Linked DNA regions of Homo sapiens: all the other regions are linked to region 1. Evidence: promoter capture Hi-C in human tissues and cell types (Jung and others, 2019). All regions are on one chromosome and are shown on one strand. Each heading gives the region's core, a stretch centred on a gene start or on the middle of the fragment in contact. The rest is flanking DNA. Distances are from core to core; before and after follow the strand shown.

Region 1 (5,080 bases), core at 911-3,410:
AAAAGACAAAAGTTAGTCGGGTGTGGTGGCACATGCCTGTGATTCCAGCTACTTGGGAGGCTGAGGCATGAGAATCGCTTGAACCCGGGAGGCAGAGGTTGCAGTGAGCTGAGATTGTGCCACTGCACTCCAGCCTGGCTACACAGTGAGACTCCGTCTCAAAACAACAAAAATAACATTTTGATACCAATGGTAATGGAATTCTTCTTTGCTAAGATTTCTCTTGGCCCCTGATTTTTCATTAGAAGTCAAATATTGTGAAAACATTCGATGCAAGGACCTGGGACACAGTGGGCTATGTCCAAGGGTATCAACGATCAAGATAAGTTTTTCCTACTGTTTTTGTTCCAGTTCAGATACTGCTTTATGGCTTCACTCCTTTGGGTTTTTTGCCCCCCCGCTCCTTTTTTTTTTTTTTTTTTCTGAATCCAGTCCCTCCCTTTGGAGGGGCTGAATTTCTTCTTAGCTTGCCTTTCATCAAGTAGATCCATTTGGAGAGGAGAAAGCCATTAGTCCTGTCCCATGATTCCACATAATCTGAATGAGGCCAGGCATTGGTGCCCGCGCCTGTAATCCCAGCACTTTGGGAGGCTGAGGTGGAAGAATTGCTTTAACCCAGGAGTTTGAGACCAGCCTGGGCAACATCGTGGGACCCCACCCTGTCTACAAAAATCAAAATTAGCCAGTTGTGGTGGTGTGCACCTGTGGTCCCAGCTGTCTGGGGAGGCTGAGGCAGGAGGATCCCTTGAGCCTGGGAAGTCATGGCTGCAGTGAGCCATGATTGTGCCACTGCACTCCATCCTGGGTGACAGAGTGAGGCCCTGTCTCCAAAAAAAAAAAAAAATCAGTTACACTACCCAATTGCCTAGTCTTGGAGCCTGATAATTGATGCCTTCTCCCTAACCCCAATCTAATCTGTCACCAGTTTCTGTTTTGCCTCCTATGAATTTATCCTCTTTGCTTTGTTTCCACACATTCTAGTTCAAGTATCTCTCTTGTGGCCCTGCAGTGGGTCTCTTATCTGGTCTCACCCATTCTGGCATCTCTCCTATCTATTCATACTGCAGGCAGAGGAAGCATTTAGAAAAATACACTTCTTATATTACCCACTTAAAATCCTTTGGTGATGTCTTAATCTGGTCAAAGACAGCTGGCTCATAAGGGGAAACTAGGACCAAATCCTTTTTCCTTCAACCAATTAGACCCTCACACAGAAAACTTAAACTTAGCATATATGAGTAAGACAAAAAAACTTCAGATCCAGTGGGGAGGAAAAGCAGATGGCTCCTAGTCCAAGGGACAGAATGGGTCACAGCTCCTAACAGGGCTGACTGCAGCCTTGGGTAGTGGGGGTGTTAGATTGTGGCATACGGGTGGCATATATGGGTCCCTAGTCAAGGACAGAGCAGTGGTTTTATCAAGGGGTATAACCCTTGTATAAGGTGTAACCCGAGTGAGTATCCTATTATGTCAACACGGCTCCAGAAAGTTGTTCAGTCATTTTCATAGTGAGTGCATAAGAGTGACTTTTCTGTACTCTATTATTCAGGTCCACATAACTTACCTGGATCAAGAGGAGACAGGTAGAGACCCCCACGAGTGTGGCAGCGGGTTAGGGAGGGAGGTGGTTCTGGGTGTACCAAGATAGAGCTCCCGTGGAAGAGGAAGGCACGGCCCGTAGTGGCTCTAATCGGGAGAGAAGAGGGAAAGGAGGGACGTCGCTGCCCGAGGGAGTAGTTAATGGAGGAAGCAAGAGGTGCCAGGTACTATTCAAGTAGCTAAGGGGGAAATGACGACTTCTGAGATTGGGTTGTCTAGTAAAGTATGACTTCTTAGTTAAACCTCGAGAGTGGACAAGTGGTAGAGGAAGGGAGGGGTGAAGGCAAAGAACGCTACTCAGTAACGCTCGGTTCAGCAGTGGTGCTGTGGACTGGAAAACAGCTACCGAAGAAAGGCAGGGGATTATTTTTCCTCGTGCATCCCGGCCCAGGAGGCCGCGCCCTTGGGAAAGCGGGTCTCCAGAAGGGCCTAGCTTTCCGTCAGCGGCGGTGCAGACAGAGGACAACACGGCGCGGTAGCTGCACCGCCTCGGCGGAAATCCCGGGCGAAGGGGTGGGGCGGAGCCGGGAAATCCGGGGCTTCCGGCGCGGCCAGGGCCCAACTTCCGGCGTCCGTCGGGCAGCAGCGGGGCTGTCTATCCCGGCTGAGGACCCGCGGCCAGTGCGGGTGGCTGGCTTTGCCATTAGCGGGGGCCTTTCCTGAGGACGGCGTACGGAGTGTGGGTGAGAAGCCGCTGTAGGACTGAAGAGGAAGAAGCGCAATTGGGGCCGGGAGGCTGCAGATTTTGTGACAGGGTTCGGGAACTACTAGTGGCGCCCCCAGGCCGCCCCTCCTCTCGAGCCGGGCCGTGCGCTCTTGCTCTGTGCGCATTCCCTGTTTTCCGCGTCGGAACCGCCCTCTTTGCAGTGGCCCCGCGCGTGCGCATAGCTGGGCGCGAGGCGCGCTGTGGGTCTCTGCGGGGCGGATCGTGAAGCTAGTGTGTCAGTCATTCCTCGAAGCGTGCTCTTGGGCTGTATTTTGGAGCTAGCGTCCCTCCTGGTCAGTTTGGCGTTTTTAAGGCCCTGGTACTTGGTTTAGAACCGAGTGCAGTGACCAGTCTTGAGGCCCCTTCCCAGCCAAGAGATGGGGGGATGGAAGTTGAGTTGGTGCTGAAAGAGTTTGTTGTTGGGGCCTTCCAGCTGTGGACACCGGGATTCATGAGTTAATTCACGATCTTTATTGAACGCCTAAATAACCCAGTGGGAAAGGCAACACAGTCCCTTATGCACAGAGCTTAACAGTTTAGTAGGAGAGGCGCGGGCTGGTAACCAGGACAGTGGTAAATGTAGTAGGACCACAGGTGGCTCCTAGCCTAACTCTGGGAGAAAAGGAGTTGGACCCAGAGGAGGCACGCCAGAGGAAGTGATGGTTATCAGAGACTGAGGGCTAAAGGGATTGGCCAGGAGATGAGGGTGTAGAGGGGCCCGAGTAGTTGCAGACAAAAGTCCCGCAACGAGGGAGGCAAAGTGTAGAGCTCTTGGCCGCCTGCAGTACCATGGAACTTGGGTGCTAGTAGAGACAAATGTGTTGGAGAGGGTAAACCAGGACTCTGTCCACCAGTGTTCATTGTTCAGACTTTATCCAGAGGTCAGCGGGGAGTCACTGGAAGAGTTTTAACTGGGGAGTGGCTGAATAATACCGTCATTTATTGAATGCCTACAGTGGTTCCAGAAAAGTCTGGAACCATATAGGGAAGGAAAGAAAATTTGTACTTCCCAGGGGTTTTAGGAGGCATGTTTTGTAGCGCCCCAATTTCCCAAGGGAAAATTTGTATTAAAATCTCTTGTTGTAAGTATGCAAGTTTTGAATAATATGCCATAATATATATTTAGATGTGTTTTCTCAAATCCTCAAGTTATACTAATGCTTTAGAACTTTGCATCATGTGTATCCTGTGATTTTTGTAGCCCTTGATATATCCATAATGTTCCCTCCTTGCTTCTCTCTCCCAGCCCTCCACATACATAACCCAACCTTTCTCTGAGCGGGACACAATTCACAATTCTTTATAGGTATTACTTTCTTTAATCCTCTTATCAACCATTAGAGTTGTGTTATTATTTCTACATTAGCAATGAAGAAACTGAGGCAAAAAGGTTAAGAAGGTTGCCCAGGTTCACCCAGCTAGTGAGTGGAGATGTATACCCAGGCTATAAATTTATACAACTCCTTTGTTCTTGTCCTTAACCACTGCACTGTTGCATTGTAGGGAATAATTTAGGGCTGGTAATAGGAGATGCAAAGTAGAGAGGACAATTAAGAAGTTGTTTAAATAGTCTAGATGAGAGTTGATTTCCAACTTCAAAAAGGTAGTTTTAAAAACGATGAAGAGAAGTAAGTGGATATAAGACTGTAAAGGAAGTAGAACTGACATAATTTGGTGTCTGGATTGATGGTGCTGCCAACCACTCATAAGGATGGCTGGGAAAGAGCACCTTTGAGGGTGAAAGGACTTGGATTGAGATGCCCCAGTGATATTCAAGCCCAGATGTCCTCTGAAGTATCTGGAAGTTCTCCTCTTGGGATGAGAGAATATGGCTTTTCTTCTTTGCATTGAATATGTACCACTGTCAGTGGTTTATGGCTCTTCTAAGGGGTGTCCCATGTAATTTGTTCCGATTATGGGAGATGGGTATGGACTCAAGATAAACAAAATCAGGCACTACCTTTGAAGCCTTTATAGTTATTTTGAGGGTTATATTAGTATTTTACAATTACATTTTATCAAATACCAGCTTGTAGTTCAGGTAACGAGTATTATACATGTTCAGACAAGGCTTGGTGGCTCATACCTGTAATCCCAGCACTTTGGGAGCCCAAGGCGGATGGATCACTTGAACTCACCAGTTCGAGACCATCCTGGGCAACGTGGTGAAACCCCGTCTCTACTAAAAGTACAAAAATTAGGTGGGCGTGGTGGTGCACACCTGTGGTTCCAGCTACTTGGGAGGCGGAGGTGGGAGGATGGCTTGAGCCGGGGAGGCAGAGGTTGCAGTGAGCTGAGAGATAGTGCCACTGCACTCCAGCCTAGGAGATAGAGTCAGACCTTGTCTCCAAAAAAAAAAAAAAAGAAAGAAAAAACAAAGTTTTGGACAAGAAGAGAGGTCATAGTGATCAAGTGATCAAGTTAGTGGGACTAACTGAAGAAGTAAGTATATTTTGAGGTATGAGTGGGGCACCTCAATTTTATTCTAGGCCTTAGTCAGTCACTCTCAAATATGTGGTGCTCCAGAAGAGCATTTTAGAGTTTAAAAGGTACGTTCTATGGAACTGGTGAGAGCAAAGAATATAGGCTTTTAAAATGTTTTGGTAACATTAAGCCTGTGTGGATGCTTCAGTAAGGATTAAAATGATAAATATGTATTATGACAGTTCCTTGGCTCCAAGTAAATAGTACAGTTCTTACTTTCATTGCTTTTCTGGTCTTGTTCATATTTGTTCTTTAATCACCTTCAGAGGTAACGTTTCTTCTTGAATATTA
Region 2 (5,080 bases), core at 1,683-4,182, 44 kb before region 1:
CTGTCTGGATGATCTGTCTTACTACTGAGAATGGGGTGTTGAAGTCCTCCACTATTACTGTACTGCAGTCTGTCTCTCCCTTTAAATCTATTAATGTTTGCTTTATATACTTGGATACTCTGGTGTTAGGTGCATACATATTTATAATTGTTATATACTCTTACTGAAATGACCCCTTTATCATTACATTGTTATATCCTCTTGCTGAAATGACCCCTTTATCATTACATTGTTATATCCTCTTGCTGAAATGACCCCATTTATTATTACACAGCAGTCTTCTTTGAGTTCTTATAGTCTACTCTTTTTTTTTTTTTTTAATTGAGGCTAAGTCTTGCTCTGTCACCCAGGCTGGAGTGCAGTGGCATGATCTCGGCTCACTGTAATCTCCACCTCCTGGGTTCAGGTGATTCTCCTGCCTCAGCCTCCAGAGTAGCTGGGATTACAGGCATGTGCCACCACACCCAGCTAATTTTTGTATTTTTAGTAGAGATGGGGCTTCACCATGTTGGTCAGCTGGTCTCGAATTCCTGACCTCAAGTGATCCACCCACCTCAGCCTCCCAAAGTGCTGGGATTACAGACGTGAGCTACTGCGCCCAGCCAGACTTGTAGTCTGTTTTATCTGAGTTAAGCATGGCTTCTCCTGCTCTTTATGCTTTCCACTTGCATAGGATATCTTTTTTCATCATTTCACTGTAACTCTATACTTTGCACTCTGCACTTTAACTCCATCCCCACAACACTTTGATTTTTGGTTGTCTCAATCTACATATTTTTACATTGTCTATTTCTTAACAGGTTGCTGCATCTACTACTGTTTTTGATAGATTTAGGCTTCATACTAGAGTTATGAGTGGATTGCACACCACAATTACAGTATTAGAATATTTTGAATGTGTTTGTGTACTCACTTTTACCAGTAAGTTTTATACCTTCAAATGTTTTCTTAGTGCACATTAGTGGGTGATATGGTTTGGCTCTGTGTCTCCACCTAAATCTCATGTTGAATTGTAATATCTAATGTTCGGGGAGGGATCTAGTGGGAGGTAATTGGATCACGGCGGCAGATTTCCTCCTTGCTGTTCTCATGGTAGTGAGTTCTCATGAGATCTGGTTGTTTGAAAGTGTGTAGCACTTCCCCCTTCACTCTCTCTCTCTCCTGCCATCTATGTAAACATGTGCCTGCTTCCTCTTCACTTTCTGCAATGATTTTAAGTTTTCTGAGGCCTCTGCAGCCATGCTTCCTGTACAGCCTGTGGAACTGTGAATCAATTAAACCTCTTTTGTTTATAAATTACTCAGTCTTGGGTATGTCTTTATAGCAGTGTGACAATGGACTAATACAGTGGATTATTTTTTCATGTTGAAGAATTCTCTTTAGCATTTCTTGTAAGACAGGTCTGGTGGTAGTAAATTCTTTCAGCTTTTGCTTGGGAAAGAATTAATCTTTTATATTGAAAAGATAGCTTTGCTGGATATGGTATTCTTAAATGGCAATTTTTTATGTTTAAGCACTTTGAAAATGCCAAGCCACTCCCTCCAGGCCTATGTGGCTTCCATTGAGAAGTCTGCTGCCAGATGAAATAGAGCTCCTTTACATGTTATTTGCTTCTTTTCAATCATTGCTTTTGGCATCCTCCTTTGTCCTTGACTTTTGAGACTTTGATTATTACATTGGGATAGTCTTACTTGGGTCAAAACTGTTTGTTATTCTCTGACCTTCCTGTGCCTGGACATTTATATCTTTCTCAAGTTTTGAAAAGTTTTCTATTACTATTTCCTTGGGTAAACTTTCTGCTCCCTGCTCTTGCACAACTCCCTCTGGAACACCAATCATTCTTACATTTGAAGTCTTTTGAGGTAATTTTCTATATCTTGTAGGCAATCTTCATTTCTTTTCATTCTTTTTTCACCTCTATGTATTTTCATATGGCCTATTTTTGAGCTCACTGATTCTTTCCTCTGCTTGATCAATTCTGCTGTTTCCTCCTACACCTTCCTCTTTTGTTTTTCTGCCTCCTCTTTGTCTTCCTCTTCAACTTCCTCTCCTTCTTCTGCAACCCCCTCTCCTCTTTGTCTTCTTCATCTGGAACATTGAAGCTAATCCATTCTGGAAAGAGCTACTCCCCTTAGTTCCCCTTCATGATCCATAAAGGAAAGCTTAGAGCCTCTCATTCTATGAATTTAGGGGTCTTTGTATCTTTCAGCCACAAAGATGACCTCATGATGATGGCTTCTTCCTCTGAGGGTCCCAGGGCTCTTCACTAAACGTCATCTCCATTTCTGCACATTCCCGCACAATAGTATCATGTGAAGTGGGTTGTTAGAAGCAGCAAATGGGAAATGATTAGGTTATCAATTTTTTCAAGCCACAAGAGCCCAAAATGGAGCTGTCAGCACTAGTAAAGAATAGTTGGCTGAGCATGGTGGCTCACACCTGTAATCCCAGCACTTTGGGAGGCCGAGGCGGGTGGATCACGAGGTCAAGAGATCAAGACCATCCTGACTAACATGGTGAAACCTCATCTCTACTAAAAATACAATAACAAAATTAGCGTGGCTGCGGGTGCCTGTAGTCCCAGCTACTCGGGAGGCTGAGGTAAGAGAACAGCATGAACCCAGGAGGCGGAGCTTGCAGTGAGCTGAGATTGCGCCACTGCACTCCAGCCTGGGCGACAGAGCAAGACTCCATCTTAAAACAAAACAAAACAAAACAAAACAAAACAAAACAAATAAAAAAACAGAATAGTTGTTTTGCTACAAAGAGAAAGACCTTCCTCAAAGCAGATACTAAAGAAATCCAGATAAATGCCCCTAAAGTGTCACCTCTTCAACTAATGACAATCCTCAAGCAAACCCAGACTTGTAGTCATTCACCATGCATTAGGAAAGATTTTCAATGAGTAAGATTCTGAAACTGTGCCATCTTACCAATAACCCTTCTCTGAAATGCTAAAGGCAGCTCTACAGGATGGCATAACTGTGGTTCTGCTTAGGGTCATGGAACAGACAGACCTCCCTACAGATCCTTTCAGGAAGAATCACGAATAATAACTACCATTTATTAAGAACTTACCAAGTATCAAGTACTAAATACTTTATTATATAATACAATAACCCCATAAGATAGGGATTCTTACAACCATTTTACAGATCAGGAAAGTGGGTATCAGAGGGTTCAAGTGATGTGTTCAATAAATAAAATGAATAGTCCACCTGGGATTTGAACCTAAGGCTCTTTGATTCCCAAACTCATGCTGTGAATCAGTAAGCCAGGCAATAAAGAAGCCTAAGTGAGTGAGTACAACAGAGTGAGTGAGTGTCGGATAGCACTAGTAGGCAATGCTTCATGGAGGAGGTGAGATTTAATCTGTACCAATAAGACTTTGATTAGCAAGGAGGAGGGTAAAACCATTCATGAGTATTCATCTCTTCCGTTACTACACAAAGTGTATTTTTAGGTATGGATACTGTGGTCATTGTCATGTTATACTATTGGCAAGGCTATTTCTCTGTAAGTGAAGGAGCAAGATTTCATCTGAAGTGTAAAATATTGGATTATTTCTTCAATAAACAACTGAATGACAGCTAGGTGCCAGGAATGGTGCAAGGTACTGGGCTTAGGAAAGCTTACATTCAAGATACATGCTGTGCAGTGAAGAATACAAATATTTATGATGCAGCAGGAGTGCTGTGGTAGAGATAGACAGAAGATGCTTTGGAAACATAAAGAACATCTGACGTGGACTGGAGGATGAGGAAAGGCTTCTTTCTAACATCTTATTTTCATCCTTCTTGGTACACTTTGGCTAGAGGGGGTGATACATGGACTGAACATTTGGTCAAATAAAGTGTGAGTGCAGGGGAATGGGTGGCAAAGATGGGGGAAGGAGGCTCTAGCCAAAGGAAGCTATATCACATTAGGGTACTCCCATGGGATTTAGTTAACTATTGCTGAAATAAATCACTGTAAACCTTAGTGGCTTAAAACAATGATGTATTAATTTTCATGAGTCTGTAGGCAGATTGGGCAGTTCTGTTGGTCCCACTGGGCTCACTCCTGGCAGGTGGGTGGGAAGTGGGCTACGCTGAGACAACTGGGATAACTGGGACTCTCTTTCCATGGTCTTTCATTCTGGGTTTTCTCATGTCATGGGGGTGCCAGGGCAGCATTCCAAGAGCAAAGGCAGATGCTATAAGGCCTCTTGAGGTTTAGGTTCCAGAATTTGCACAACATCACTGCATCTGCATTCTATTGATGAAAACAAGTGCCAAGGCCAGCTCAGATTCAGAGTGGAAAGAGGAGCTGCAAAGAAGTTGTGGCCATATTTAATCTCCCATACATGTCACACCATGTCATCACCTCTGAAATGCTACATTCAAATATCCTACTTTCTAATCCCAATCACCCATTCTTTCTGCATTTTCATCCACCTCTTCAAGACTTCCAGTCCCCGATCTCTCCCTCTTCTCAGCTTCTTTCTAACTTTTCTTTTCTGCCAATGCAAGTAGTTGATCTTCTGAGCTCTCCTCTTACCTGACCCCATCATTCCTACCCAGGGGGTGGGGGTGGAGGTTAGGCAGGACTGAAATCACACAGTCAAGAAGAAATCACACAAGCTACATGAATTGGCAGATTGGTCTCATCTACTCTCACACCTCAGCTCTCAGCTTCACCTGTCAATGTTTTCACCTGTTTCAGGTCAGTTCTTCTCCATCTAAAGCTAGTCCAAAACAGTGCTCTACAATCTCCTTTCTCAAGCCTAGGCCCTCATTCTCAGCAGACAGTGCTATCCCCTACTTGACTACTGAGACAAAAGTTATCAGACTTGACCTCTGAACTTCTTGTTCTCACCTACAGAAGTATCTACCTCACCTTTTCCCTTCAGTCTCAAAAGATGACTTTTCTCCTTGTCCGATTGAAATATTAAACCCTCTGCTGTGCCCTTGGCCCTAGACCTGCATTTGAATTCAGGGAATCTGAATTGAAGACATATAGAGTGAGTAACTGGTGGCGGGAGGGCAGAAACCAAGACACAAAGAGAAAGAAGCAATAGGCAGAAGCCATGAGGCAAGAA
Region 3 (5,080 bases), core at 1,760-4,259, 42 kb after region 1:
TCCTGCCTTTTGCTGTTTTATTTTCTCATTATTGAAGAAATCCTTAGATAACTATTTTTGCTCTTGTGTATTATTCCCATGAGTATTTCTTTCTTTCTTTCTTTCTTTTTTTTTTTTTTTAGCTCATGTAATTAAGGATTTACACTGAGCTTCAAAATGGTACCTCTGTCAGTGTCTTGATGGGCCCAGCTCCCCCAGCTGGTCTCCACTGGCTCTGTCGTCTATTGTGACTGGCATTTTATTGTGACCAGCCTTTCACAGGCATCAGTTTAGTCTCTGAGAAGCCATCAGCGTAACACAATCAAGTCCAAAATGTGTAATTAGTAAATCAACTAAGTACAGCTCTTGGAAGCAGGCATATTTGTACCATTGATTTTTGGTCAGAAAAATCATGAATAACCCTACTGTTCTAAAAACATGTGGAACAGCCAGCTTCATTGGTAAATTTTAACTCAGTGCAGTGGACAAGTGCTAGGCTTCCCAGTGTTGAAAATAACCGTAAATATTTTAATTCATATTCAATAATAAGTGCTTTCTGTGGATCATCTCGAGCAATTTTGTTTCTAAAGGGGTAGCACAAGGTAGATGCTCAATATAATTTGATCAATTATTTGTTAAAGATTTTTGACTAGTCCTAACCAGAATTTGTTTAGCATGTGAAACAGTCATCTAGAAAAAAAATAGGATCTTTCTTTGCCTTCATATATCATCAACATAGCATCCTGTTTTCTCCCTCCATTCATCATTTATCCATCCATGAAAGCACAGGCTGCTGCAGTGAGTGAATCAGCCATGAGCAATGCAGGCAGCTCCATTCACTCAACGAACGTTATTGAGCCCCTGCTGTGTGCTAGGTGCTAGAACTAAAACATATACCTAAGCCACTTTTGTCAATTTCTATTTTGTAGAAACCCCACTTGCAGAGCCAGACTAAGCAAAAGCCTTTAACTCCATGGCTAGGAAGCTTATTTATTTGTCTCTTAGACCACTGGATCCAGAAAGTAGGTCATATAGTAATATTTAGTCATTAACTTACCTGTAAGATCAAATAGAAACCTTGTGAAGGAGTTTATACTAACGATATTTAAGCTTGGGAAGAAAACTGGCAGTAGAGCTTGCTGCGGGGACCATGCTATGGACAGGTGCCTTCAGGGTGCTAACGAGAGTGAGGTATATATTAATTACCTTTGTACATTTGATGCTGGCTCCCTTCCTGTAAGAAGTTATAATCAGTAAGATAAGACAGGAAGCGTCTTCTCCACCATGATGCAAAGATGTGGAAAAGAGGGTTTTTCAGGCTTTGTGTTTGTCTGGCAAAGCCTCTTAAAGTAGTTGTAGAAAACAGTAGGTCTCTTGTTGAAAGAGCTGAGTTTAGGCAGAGAAAACTGGGAAAAGCAGAAGAATCAACAATAGAGACCACAAAGGGATGAGAGAGCAAGGAGAAAGGTGAAGGGCAGAGGCAGCCCTGGTGGCTACAGGGCAGGAGCTGCGTTCTGCATTTCCTCCCTCCCCTCTCTTCTTCCCTCCATTCATTCTTTAAAAAGATATTTATAGGATAGTTACTATGTGCTAGTCACTATGTTAGGTACTTGGAATACATTGGGACATGTAACAGATATAGCCCCTGTCTCAAATAACTTAGTCTTCTTAAATGTGAGACAGATGTTAAACAAATAAATGCATAATTACAAATTGTTGTAAATGTTGTGGAGGCAAAGAACAAGGTGAATAACAGGGAGGGGGTTTAATTTGGATGGGAAGGTGGGGTCTGACCTGAAGCATGAAGGAGGTAGTCAGGTGAGAATAATGGAATGACAAGGGAATGGCACGTGTGTAGGCCCTCAGAAAAGCAGGTCCAGTCTGGGACTGCAGCCTGGTGAGCCAGTAGCACATGCTTAGGTGAGAGGGTCACTGGGGCTGCATGACAAAGGGCTTGGTAAGCAGCAGTAGAGATTTTGGATTCTTTCTGAAGGGCACTGGGACCCATTAAAGGGTCTTTAAATAGGGACTGTGCACCTTCTGACTTGTAAAAGCTCTTTGTGACCACTGTGGAATGGTTCCTCTGCTGTGTTGAGGTGTTAAATTGTGTGCCAGGTGCTAGAACAGCAGGCCATCTTGAATTCCACGGTTGGGAGAGTCAGGCAGTGAGCCTGCTGCTTGATGCCAAGTGGCCTGTCCTGCCTGGCCCCTGGCCTGCGAGCATCCATCACTCTTTTCCTCCCCAACCCAGGGCGTTCTCATCTGCTGGGCTCCCGGGCTGCCTGGATCCCTGCGTGGCAGCAGCACATCCTGTTCCCAGTTGCCTTTGGGAGCGGATGAGTCCTCTGCCCTCTGGGGTCTGGGCTTCCATTTTAAAGCATTAATTTAATCACCAATCTATCTTTAGAGCTGAGGGTAGGGGAAAGAAAATGATTTCATCAGCTGTGAACATGTGAAGGGAATCTTAGCTGTCAGACGATCCAGTACCTGTGGCTGTCCATTGTGAATGACCAGAGGGCCTGGGGAAAGGCTGAATGTGACATTTCTTTGAATTGCCTCATTTACATCCTGAAGCCTCAATAAAAGGTGATTTGGGAGATGTGCAGCCCCTGATTCTGTCTTAACTGTAAGGGTGGTGCTGTGATGACCCAGGTGCTCATGGGGTATGATTAATTTAGCATTCTGGTGGCAGCCTGTGTTTACTGGCTTTACTTTCATTTCAGGGAAATATCGAGCATCAGATGAAGAAAAAATTAATCCACCTCCTTACTTAACTTGTGAGAGTTTCCCTCATGCTGTGGACCACATTCTGCAGCACCTATTGTGAAGCAGTGTGTGCATCTGAAGCAACTTGAAATGCAGCTTCTTATTGTCTGGAATGAATCCCTTACCAACTCAGTGCCAGCATCGGTAGACACCAGTCAGTGCTGATCGCTTTTTAACCCTCTTTTGTTGTGCATTAATTAGAAAGAAAGGTATTGAATTGCGGCTAGCCAGTAAGCCTTGCTAATCTCTTTTATTTTGTAACTGAAGATGAGACCCAAAGAAAGGGAAAGCTGAGATTTTGTGCCATTCCTTTTAAAATATTCATCAGGTTAGGTGGGGCTGTGGGGGAAAAGCTACTACAGGGAAGAGTGTTCTCTGCTGTCTCTTCACTGGAAAACAGGGAGGGGGGATTTCAGACTGTGAAGAAAGTTGAATGGTGGTTTTTAAATTATAAAGTAATGTATTAAAAGGTGCATTAGGCTGTAGTTCTAATATTGAGTTCAACTGTGAAATCCATCAGATGTGCCAAATGGAGAAGACAGAAAGCAACAAAGTGAATTGTTCTTTAGCCCAAGTGGTACAGTGAATTTGCTTTAACAGATGTTGAAAACTAAATTTTCTACTGTATTCCCAGCACGGGTGACTTCTTTTTCTCTTCATTAGCCAGAGATGACTAATTTAAATTTAGAACCAGATTTTAATTTAAATTAATATTTCCATTAATAACCTATTCATTGCAGATACCTATTATACTGTGTAACAGTTGTTTTGGAAATTTTATGTAAAATTAAAACTATCAGTATTTTACAGATGTTTTAATTAGACATTGTTATTAACAGGAACAGTGCAGAAACTAGAATCAAGCCTTATAATATCTTATAGACCATGCATTTTTGAAGTTAGTGTCCACTAGGGTCCTATTAACTGTACATTTGCAAGATTTCATTATTTTTGCCTCTGACACTATGGGAAAAATTTTTTAGAAGCTATTGGGACAGATTCAAGCTTTTATGCACTTGGTTACTACAGCTGTAAAATGAAATCTCGTCTTGTAGCATGGATTATTCTTCTCATGTTAAACCCACCAAAATAAAGGGGACTAAATAGGTAATGATTTTCCTAGTGCATTTGCATACTGTGATAATCCTGGGCCTTGCAATAGTTCTACAGGGCTCTTGGGCATTGAATTATTAGGATGTAATTGTACATCATTGTAGTGTTCACCTTATTGAAGCTCACTCTGATGTTAATGAGCTTCGGGTTTTGATGCTTGTTTAGAGATCAGCAGTCTTGGATGGGAGGGAACAAAGCTAAATAAATGTTAGTTTGGTGAGCACTGTGTTTTTGTTTTTGCAAATGCCTCATCTTAGTACTTCTATATCCCAGAGTGCAAAAGACAGATGTGATATGACTACCACCCCAAATCAGAAGGATGAGCGGAGTGGCTAAGAGTATACTCTGGATCCTGGTAACACAAAATTAGCTCTCTGGCCTTGGGCAAGTCACCTCACCTCTCATGCCTTCTTTCCTTATCTATAAAATGGGGATAATGATAGTGCCCACCACATACGGTTGGTGTGAGCATTACGTGCATGAACTATATATTAAGTACTTAGAATATCATTGGGCAAATGATGAGTGCTGTGCGTTTGTGATGATGATGATGATGAAGCAGGACTCTCCACATTTAACAGTCTGAAAAAGGTTGGTAGAATTTATCTTTACATTTATCTCAGTGGAGAAAGTCTTCCTAAGGATTAAAAAAAAGGATATTCTTTACTACATTTAGACTTCCTCAGAGCAAAGCTGCACAGAGAGAGAGCTCAGCCTGTGGGTAGAGAGCTCTGCGTGGTGCCTGGTGGGTGGGCTGCCTTCAATTTTGCCCTGTTGCTTGGGCACCTGGGTCAGTGATGCCTTGGCCCAAGCATTATCAAGTGTTTGCTAGTTGCTGTGCACTGAGTGCCCTGATTATGGTGGGAAATAAGCATATTAAGAAAAAGATTTTGCCTCAAGGATCCTTTTCAGTTGAAGAGCTAAGGAAAAGAATACACACAGAGGCGTTCCTGTCCTCTGATGTCGTCCCTGACTTCAGGATGGGGCAAGGTGTCCCCTCCTTCATGTCCGTGTGGCACTTGAAGAGTGTACTTATGTCTTCACATGCTCTTCTCCCCACTAGACAGGGCTGCATCTCATTTTTTTAAATTTTAATTTTGCTACCCAGTTAAATTTGAGTTTCATCATTCTTTCCTATATCTGCTGCAACACAGGTAAGCACTCAAATGGTTACTGAACCAATAAAAACTAAATATCTTAGGAATGTAATGCTAGAAAGCAT

The links. The method cuts DNA at HindIII sites, captures the fragments that hold promoters and counts their contacts. A contact is called where the count stands out against the background at its distance.
Region 2: a contact is called between a fragment that was not itself captured here and the fragment with the promoter of HDHD2 in region 1, in 1 of the 25 tissues and cell types used here (liver).
Region 3: a contact is called between a fragment that was not itself captured here and the fragment with the promoter of HDHD2 in region 1, in 1 of the 25 tissues and cell types used here (H1 embryonic stem cells).

What each region holds. Positions count from the first base shown.
Region 1 is chr18:47,147,580-47,152,659 of GRCh38, reverse strand. HDHD2 (haloacid dehalogenase like hydrolase domain containing 2) reads left to right here and starts at 2,160. Exons shown (of 7, transcript NM_032124.5): 1 at 2,160-2,282. RefSeq lists an enhancer at 2,692-2,751. The HindIII fragment of the contact is 18,750 bases long and covers 1-5,080 here.
Region 2 is chr18:47,192,240-47,197,319 of GRCh38, reverse strand. No RefSeq gene overlaps it. Among named protein-coding and RNA genes, the nearest start is that of IER3IP1, 18 kb to the right of the region's middle. RefSeq lists an enhancer at 5,008-5,080. The HindIII fragment of the contact is 4,108 bases long and covers 879-4,986 here.
Region 3 is chr18:47,106,408-47,111,487 of GRCh38, reverse strand. It overlaps HDHD2 (haloacid dehalogenase like hydrolase domain containing 2), which reads left to right. Exons shown (of 7, transcript NM_032124.5): 7 at 2,703-4,078. The coding sequence ends at 2,806. Among named protein-coding and RNA genes, the nearest start is that of HDHD2, 42 kb to the left of the region's middle. The HindIII fragment of the contact is 3,963 bases long and covers 1,028-4,990 here.